Regions from separate parts of the Homo sapiens genome. Here all the other regions are linked to region 2. Evidence: promoter capture Hi-C in human tissues and cell types (Jung and others, 2019). All regions are on one chromosome and are shown on one strand. The core of a region is centred on a gene start or on the middle of the fragment in contact, and the rest is flanking DNA. Distances in the headings are between cores, read along the strand shown.

What was found. Contacts are between HindIII fragments. The study calls those that stand out against the background at their distance.
Region 1: a fragment that was not itself captured here is called in contact with the fragment with the promoter of GIT1 in region 2 in 1 of the 25 tissues and cell types used here (lymphoblastoid cells).
Region 3: a fragment that was not itself captured here is called in contact with the fragment with the promoter of GIT1 in region 2 in 2 of the 25 tissues and cell types used here (dorsolateral prefrontal cortex and lymphoblastoid cells).

Annotation. Positions count from the first base shown.
Region 1 is chr17:29,889,529-29,892,228 of GRCh38, forward strand. The region is part of intron 1 of SSH2 (slingshot protein phosphatase 2); the gene reads right to left. Among named protein-coding and RNA genes, the nearest start is that of SSH2, 39 kb to the right of the region's middle. The HindIII fragment of the contact is 4,297 bases long and covers 1-2,700 here.
Region 2 is chr17:29,588,298-29,590,997 of GRCh38, forward strand. It overlaps GIT1 (GIT ArfGAP 1), which reads right to left and starts at 1,351. Exons shown (of 20, transcript NM_014030.4): 1 at 1,030-1,351. The coding sequence starts at 1,081. RefSeq lists enhancers at 1-532, 1,432-2,331 and silencers at 750-939, 1,200-1,679. The HindIII fragment of the contact is 8,209 bases long and covers 1-2,700 here.
Region 3 is chr17:29,911,537-29,914,236 of GRCh38, forward strand. All of the region lies in intron 1 of SSH2 (slingshot protein phosphatase 2), which reads right to left. Among named protein-coding and RNA genes, the nearest start is that of SSH2, 17 kb to the right of the region's middle. The HindIII fragment of the contact is 3,452 bases long and covers 1-2,700 here.

The DNA.
Region 1 (2,700 bases), core at 122-2,621, 300 kb after region 2:
TAGCTATGACACCAAAAGCATGAACAACAACAACAAAATAGGTACACTGAACTTCACCAAATTTAAAAATTTTGTGCTTCAGAGTACACCATAAAGAAAGAAAAAAGACAACCCAGAGAATGGGATAAAATATTTGCAAATCACATATCCGACATGGGACTTGTATCTGGAATACATAAAGAACTCTTACAACTCAATAATAAAAAGACAAAAAGTCCAATTTAAAAATGAGCAAAGGCCAGCCTGGGCAACACAGTGAGGCCCCATCTCTACCAAAAAAAAAAAAAAAAAAAAAAAAAACCAGCCAGGTATGAGATCAGACACCAAGACTGGGGCAGGAGGATGGCTTGAGCCCAGGAGTGTGAGGCTGCAGTGAGCTGTGATTGTTTCACTACACTCCAGCCTGGGAAACAGAGCAAGACCCCAGTCTCTAAAAAATTTTTTTAATTAAAAAAATAAAAAATGGGCAAAAGATCTGAATAGATATTTCTCATGTGAGGAAGATACACAAATGGCCAGTGAGCACATGAAAAGATGTTCAACATCATTAGCCACTAGGGAAATGCAAACCCAAACTGCAATGAGATAATACTTCATATTCACAAGAATGGCTAGAATCTGAAGTTAGGTTACAACAAGTGTTGATGAGGATGTGGAGTAATCAGAGCCCTCATACACTGCTGGTGGGAATGTAAAATGGTGCAGCTGCTGTGGAAAACAATCTGGCAGTTCATCAGTTAAAAAGAGTTATCATATGCTCTAGCAATCCCACTCCTAGGTATATGCCCAAGAGAAATGAAAACATATGTCCATACAGAAACTTGTACACAGATGTGTACAGCACCATTCATAATAGCCAAAAGACAGAAACAACCTAAATGTCATCATTTAGGTGGATGAAAGGATAAAACACTATTATTATTTGGCCATAAAAAGGAATGAAGTGCTAACACAGGCTATGACATGGATAAGCCTTGAAAACATTATGCTAACTGAAAGAAGCCAATCACAAAGACAACATATGATCCCACTCATAGGCCAGTCCAGAATAGGGAAGTTATAGAGACAGAGATTAGTGTTTGCTTAGGATGAGGTGAGGTGTTGGGTGGGATAGAGTGGTCATAGATAAAGGGGTTTCTTTCTGAGGTGATGAAAATTTTCAAAAACTGACTGTGGTGTTGGGTGCATATATCTGTGAATATACCAAAACCAATGTATTAACTGTATAGCATTTGAATTATATTTCACTAAAGCTGTTCGCTCTGTCACCAGGCTGGAGCGCTGTGGTGCGATCTCGGCTCACTGCAACCTCTGCCTCCTGTGTTCAAGTGATTTTCCTGCCTCAGCCTCCCGAGTAGCTGGGACTACAGGCACACGCCACCAGACCCAGCTAATTTTTGTATTTTTAGTAGAGACGGGGTTTCATCATGTTGGCCAGGATGGTCTTGATCTCTTGACCTCGTGATCTGCCTGCCTCAGCCTCCCAAAGTGCTGGGATTACAGGTGTGAGCCACCACGCCCGGTCTGAAAAAAATCTTTAAAAGATCATCCTGTGAGAAGCACCTGAACATACACTCCTCTGATTTGGGTTCTAACCATGGACACTTTTGCTACAGTCAGTGTAAGGACCAGCCTGGATCAGGCCTAATCACAGGCTGGATTCCCTGCACCAGTACTTTTCATATGTTAGTACTTAACAGAATCACCCAAGAGCCTGTTAAAAAACACACAGTCCTGACTATCTCAAGAGAGACTGAGTAGGACAGAGATGAAACCCACAAATCTACTATGCTTAAGTTCCCACATGAATCTAGTGCAAGTGGTTAGCAACCACATTTGCTACAAATAGTTCTCTGCACTGTTATCTAGACAAAACCCATCAGATTTAGCCTTCACTTCTAAATAAATTTTTTTTTCAAAGCAATGAAAGAAAGAAGCAACAAAAGCACAGATTTATTGAAACGAAAGTACACTCCATAGAGTGAAAGCAGGCTCAAGCAAGCAGCTCAAGAGCCCTAAATAAATTCTAAATTCTAAAATGTTGAATATTATGTCATAGTAATAGAAAAAAAAAAACAAAATAGCCTTCAAACTTCTGACAGGTGAAGAGCAGACCAAAGGTAATTGCAGAATTTCCAGACTTCTCATTTGACCAAAAGGGCTATTCAATTATAGACAAAAGAAACATAATTAGCTAAAAAAGTACAGAGCAGAACCGCATCATTATATAGTGACCCACTATAAATCAAAAGGTCTCAGTACAGACCACACCACTAAGAATATTTAATCTTGCACAATTTTATGGTTATAAGTCAGAACCTTATGTTCTGACTAGCCCATTAGCTTTCCAGATTCTAGTTAAAACCCATCTTCAAACTGAAGAGATTTTGTATAAACAATATATAGCTGAAGATATCTACCACTAAGAAAGAAGCTTTATAAAATTAGGAAAATGGCTTTTAGAATTTACAAAAGAAATTCTAAAATGCACAAATGAAGTAATAGCCGACTTTCTTTTTTTTTTCTTTCTTTTCTTTCTTTCTTTTTTTATTAAAAAGAGACAAGGTCTTGTTCTGTTGCCCAGGTTGGCCTTGACCTCCTTGGGCTCAAGCAATCCTCCTGCCTTATAGTCTCCCAAGTAGCTGGGGACTACAGACATGTGCCACAGCATTTGGCTAATAGCAAACATTTTAAATAGTA
Region 2 (2,700 bases), core at 101-2,600:
TGGATGTGGGCTAGAGCTTCCTTCCCAGGCCAGCTGCAGAGCCCCGTCACTGGCTGTCCTCCCTCATCAGAAGGGAGCAGCCTCTTGGATCATTACCCCTGACTTCCTCAGCAGGCCTGGGGGGTTTCACTCCAGCCCAGTCCTAACTCTGTTAGGAAAAGGAAGGGAACCACCATGTAAATACAGCCAGGAGACAGGCCAGGAAGCCAGCAGGATACGGGGAATCTCGGCACGGCCTCCCACCCATTTCTGGCCAGACTGGGCTAGGGGACAGGGAGGGGCCCGCACCCAGGATAGCTTGATGCCAAGCTCACTTTCCCAAGCAGGCCTTACCGGTGAACAGGAACAGCAGGGTCCAGCCGAGCTGTTCCCAGTCACCACCAGCAGGCCTGGGGATGCCTCCCGAGAAGACACCCGGGTCTAGACTGGCCCTGAACGCCAGGCCCGGCAAGGAGCGCTAGCCTTAGGAACCCGAGGCAGGGAGTCCTGGGAGTAGCCACCGCTCATCTGCTCCTGAGGAGACGGTATTCAGGCCCCACTGGCGCATCTGCCCGGCCCTCTGCTCCTTGCCCTCCACCACCCCGGCAGGCGTACCGACCACGCGAGCAGCAGGTGCAAGACGCGGGGGTGGCACTGAGATGACATAAAACCACACTCGCCCCCACCTCCCAAGCCCTGACGGCCTCCGCCACGGCCCTCCTGCCACCCCAGGCTGGCGCTTCCGTCGGATACAGAGATGGAGGTGGAGGAGCAGCCAGCTGCCCGCCTCCCTCAGACCGAGGAGCGGGAGGCGGCGCCGGGAACGTCCTTCCTCGCTAGTCCACGGCCTCCAGGGAGCATGGGCACCCCAGGCCGGCCCTCCCGCCAAGGGCGCAGCTCCGCAGTGGCCGAGGCGGGGGCCCAGCCTGGAGGCCGCAGCCCCCCGCCCCGCCCAGCCCTCCGGCCCCGCACAGCGCTCTTGCCAGGCCCCGGCGCCCGCCCGGCGGCGGCCTGGCTGTGCGGTCCCGCCCCCGGCCCCGCCGCGCTTACCCGGGGCGCTGCAGTCCGCACACACCTCCGCTCGCGGCCCCTTTCGGGACATCCTCAGCGGCGACGCGGCCGCAGCCCTCTGGGCCAGCGTGGGGGGCGCGGGCGGCGGGCCCGGGCGGCGGCGGCGGCCCCTGCTGCCCGGCCCGGCTCCGGCGAGGCCCCGGCGAGGCTCCGCGCGCCCGGCCAACCGTCCGCCCCGGGGCTGGCCCGGAACCCGCCGTGCCCGCCTGCCCGCTCGCCCTCGGGCGCCCTCCGCCCCGCGCCGCCCCGCCGCCGCTCGCGGCTCCTCTCTCCGCCCCCTGCGCGGCTCCCGGCCGCTTCTGCAGGAAGCGGCGCAGGCCCTGCCCACAGGGGGAGGGGCCGCACCCCCGCCCCGCCGCGCGCTGCCGGCCGCGCCCCCTAGAGAAAGGAAGCCCGGGCGCGGGCAGGAGGGGGCGGGGGCGCTTAAAGGGGCCGCGGCAGATGCCCGGCCCCGGCGGGCAGCGTGGCCTGCGGCCCTGGCCTCCGCTGCAGCGCTCGCCTGGCCCGGAGGCAATGTGAGTCACCCTCACAGCCCCCTCCCCTTCACTTTCCGCGTGGGGTGGACCGGGGGACGCTGGGCCCACGGACGGCGAGGGTGGGGATTAGGGAAGAAGGACTTGGAGGCCCAAGTCCCGCTCCAGGTCAAAGGGGCTGTGCCTTGGGGTACCCGTCTATCTCTGGTTGGGGTGAGGTGTGCGTCCCTGTCCCGTAGGTGTCCACATCTGTGTGTCCAGGGGTGTGTGTGTATGTGTCACACTCTTGCTGAATACGCCCACTGCTAACAATATGGACGCCCAGGTGCCAGAAAGGTCAGGCAGTGTATTCCCCTGCCTCCGGACTAAAAATATATCTATCTCTCCATGCATCCTTCCATCCAGAGAGGAGAGAATCTGGGCGGTTTTTAAAGACCTCCCGAGGAGTGACCACTGTGCCTGTGTGCACTCACATCCACTTGTCATCCGCCTTACACACACCCACGGTGTTTCTGGGCCACCAGAGGTGTGTGTGTCCAGAAAGGGTGCATATAACATAGAGGGGCCGTTTCAGGTGACGGCCTTTCTTCCTGGACTTCACACGACGAGGCAGGCAAAGGCAAGGCAGGTGAGGGACGTGGGTGGGCTGGGGGGCAGGGAGCCTAGGTAGAGGCCGCACATGAGCGCAGCCCCCGCACTGAGCATGCGCCCCCATACGCGTGTGCCGCGCGTGTACCCAACCCCCAATCCCTGCAGCAGCAAAAGGCCCGGGCACTCTGCTTGTGGGGAGAGGGTAGAGGTCCCCAGGGCCAGACCTGGGGGCCAGGTCAGTGGTGACAATTGAGGAGGGGTTCTCCAAGAGTCAGAGACTCCTGCTTGTTAAGATGGGGGCAGTCCTTTGGCAGGGGTGCTCAAGTTGGTCGATTATCCCAACGGTGCCAGAGCGGCAGTGATTTGTGGGTGGGCAGGCTCCTTCCCTAGGGGAGACAAGTAATGCTCATGAGTCACACCACCCGAAATACATGCAAAGCTGCCTCCATCGCCTTTTGCTGCGGCCCAGATTGACAAGTTTGTTTGAAATCGCGATCCATGGGCTTTATTTATAATTGCACCTTAAAAAAATCTTGCAGGCCTCCCCTCCCTCGACAGCCAGCCGCTCAGCTGGTGGGGCTTTTGC
Region 3 (2,700 bases), core at 113-2,612, 320 kb after region 2:
TTGGCAGAGACAGGATTCCAACTTAGGTTGTTCTGATTCCAAAACCTCTGCACTTAATTACTATGCTATATTGCAATGTTATATATCAATTTTCCAGATAAGAAATGGGAGGCTCAGAAAGATCAAGCAAACTTACCCCCAAAAAACACTGCTAACAAGTCTCTATACCAGGACTTAAACTCAAGCTTTCTAATTTCAACTTCCTTGGCCATATAATAAAATGACTGATAGAAGCTAAGAATCAGTAGTAGAGTAATGAAATGGAAGGAAAATATATTGTTTATAGTGTCTACACATTGGTGACTCACTAGTTAAATCTGGGCCTCAGATATGTTCTGTTTAGCCTTCAAGATATAGTTCTTTAAATCTGTATTAGTTGTTATACAAAGTGTGACAATAGCTATTCCAAACATTCTTATCCCTTGCTGTCACTCAATGATTAAAATGGAAAGCCATATACTTACTTTCCCAGGCTCTATTGCAACTAGAGTAGGCCATGTAACCTAGTTCTGGTAGGAGACTTAAAGAGAAAGCTACTGGGAATGAGCAGTTGGTTTCTGGGAAAATTTTTGCTTCCTAATGAATGGTACAGCCACTGCTGGCACTGTACCTTTTACCCCTTTCTGCAACAAATATGGATGTACTGCCAGAGCTACAATAGCCATCTTTTATGTGGAAAAAAGCAGAAAGATGGGAATCAAATACACTATTAATGGCAAAACAGGAAGATATAAACAACTTAGATCTTTATGGTATTGCTGAGCTAAGTTAGTCCTAGACTATATGTATCTTCAAATTTATTGTTAGATAAACCATATTCCTACTGTTTAAATTTGGTCTTCTGTTACTTACAATCAAAATAATTTCCAGCCAATTCAGTTGCCAACATTTAAAAATCAGAGGATTTCAGACAGGCAGAGTGGCTCACACCTGTAATTTCAGCACTTCGAGAGCCTGAGGTGGGAGAATGGCTTGAAGCCAGGAGTTTGAGACCACCCTGGACAATATAGTGAGACCTCATCTCTACAAAAACTAAGAAAAAATAGCTGGGTATGATGGTATGCAACTATAGTCCTAACTACTACTCAGGAGGCTAAGGTGGGCAGATTGCTTGAGCCCAGGAGTTGAAGGCTGTAGTGAGCTACGATCTTGCCACTACACCCCAGCCTGGGAGACAGAGTGAGATCCTGTCTCTAAAGTCCACCCCTCCCACCAAAAAATATCAAAAGATTTCATATAATCTGCTAATTACTAATGTTTCTCGAGATATAAGACTTTTCTGGCAATACTGGGTCTACACAGAGTCACACTGGCAGCCTCTGAAGACAGAGCTCATAGTCTCCTACTTACCACAGATCCTATTTGGCCAGCTTCACTAATGTATGTCATCTGCCAAATCTTATAGCCACACTTAAATGTACAACTTCCTATATCTCAATCTAAGTCTGGTCTAGAACCCAAGTGGCCACCTGAACACCTAGCATTAAAAAAAAATCTCCAGCCAGGCACAGTGGCTCAGGCCTGTAATCCCAGCACTTTGGGAGGCTGAGGCAGACGGATCACCTAAGGTCGGGAGTTTGAGACCAGCCTGGCCAACATGATGAAAATCCATCTCTACTAAAAATACAAAAATTAGCCGGGTGTGGTGGCACACATCTGTAATCCCAGCCACTTGGGAGGCTGAGGCACGACAATCGCTTGAACCTGGGAGGTGGAGGTTGCAGTGAGCCAAGATCACGGCACTGCACTCCAGCCTGGGCGACAGAGCGAGACGCCATCTCAAAAAAAAAAAAAAAAAAAAAAAAAAAAAAATATATATATATATATATATATATATATATATATATCCAATTTCTACTAAAGATGTAGTAAAGGGCTTTTACACTAGCAAAAGCTCTCCTGAAACTGCCCAAGAGGTAAGCTGTTCTGACCTTTATTCTTGGAGCCAAACTCTGGCAATTATTTAACAGTAAAATGGGCAATTAAAGTAGTCAATTTTCCAGTTATGAAATTCTGTGAACCCCTAGGAAGCAATATTTATGAATAAATCCCAAGATTCCAATAATAAAGAGTCCAAGAAGCTTCCTATATTTCTTTCTTTTTTCTTTTTTTTTTGAGACGGAGTTTCATTCCTATTGCCCAGGCTGGAGTACAATGGCGCAATCTCGGCTCACCGCAACCTCTGCCTCCTGGGTTCAAGTGATTCTCCTGCCTCAGCCTCCTGAGTAGCTGGGATTACAGGCAAGCACCACCACGCCGGCCTAATTTTGTATTTTTAGTAGAGACGGGATTTCTCCACGTTGGTCAGGCTGGTCTTGAACTCCCGACCTCAGGTGATCCGCCCGCCTCAGCCTCCCAAAGTGCTGGAATTACAGGCATGAGCCACCGCTCCCGGCCAGCTTCCTATATTTCTTACATAGAAGTGGCAAGGCAATATAAAACCACAGCATCTAAAATCCCCCAAGCAAGAAAATAAGGTTGTCATTTGGTAGTCTCAGTAGCAAAGTAAGCTTGTACCACCACTGCACAGTCCTAGTGAAGGGTTTAGGATTCCTGTATCCAAAGCTATCTTACAAGTGTATATCTTATATCTTATATACAAAGCAGACCTTACAAGTCACAGTTGAGGTGATGTTCTGAGACATTTCAAGGAGACTGTCATTTAGGATAAACTGCTTGACTTTCACTACAAGCAGTTTC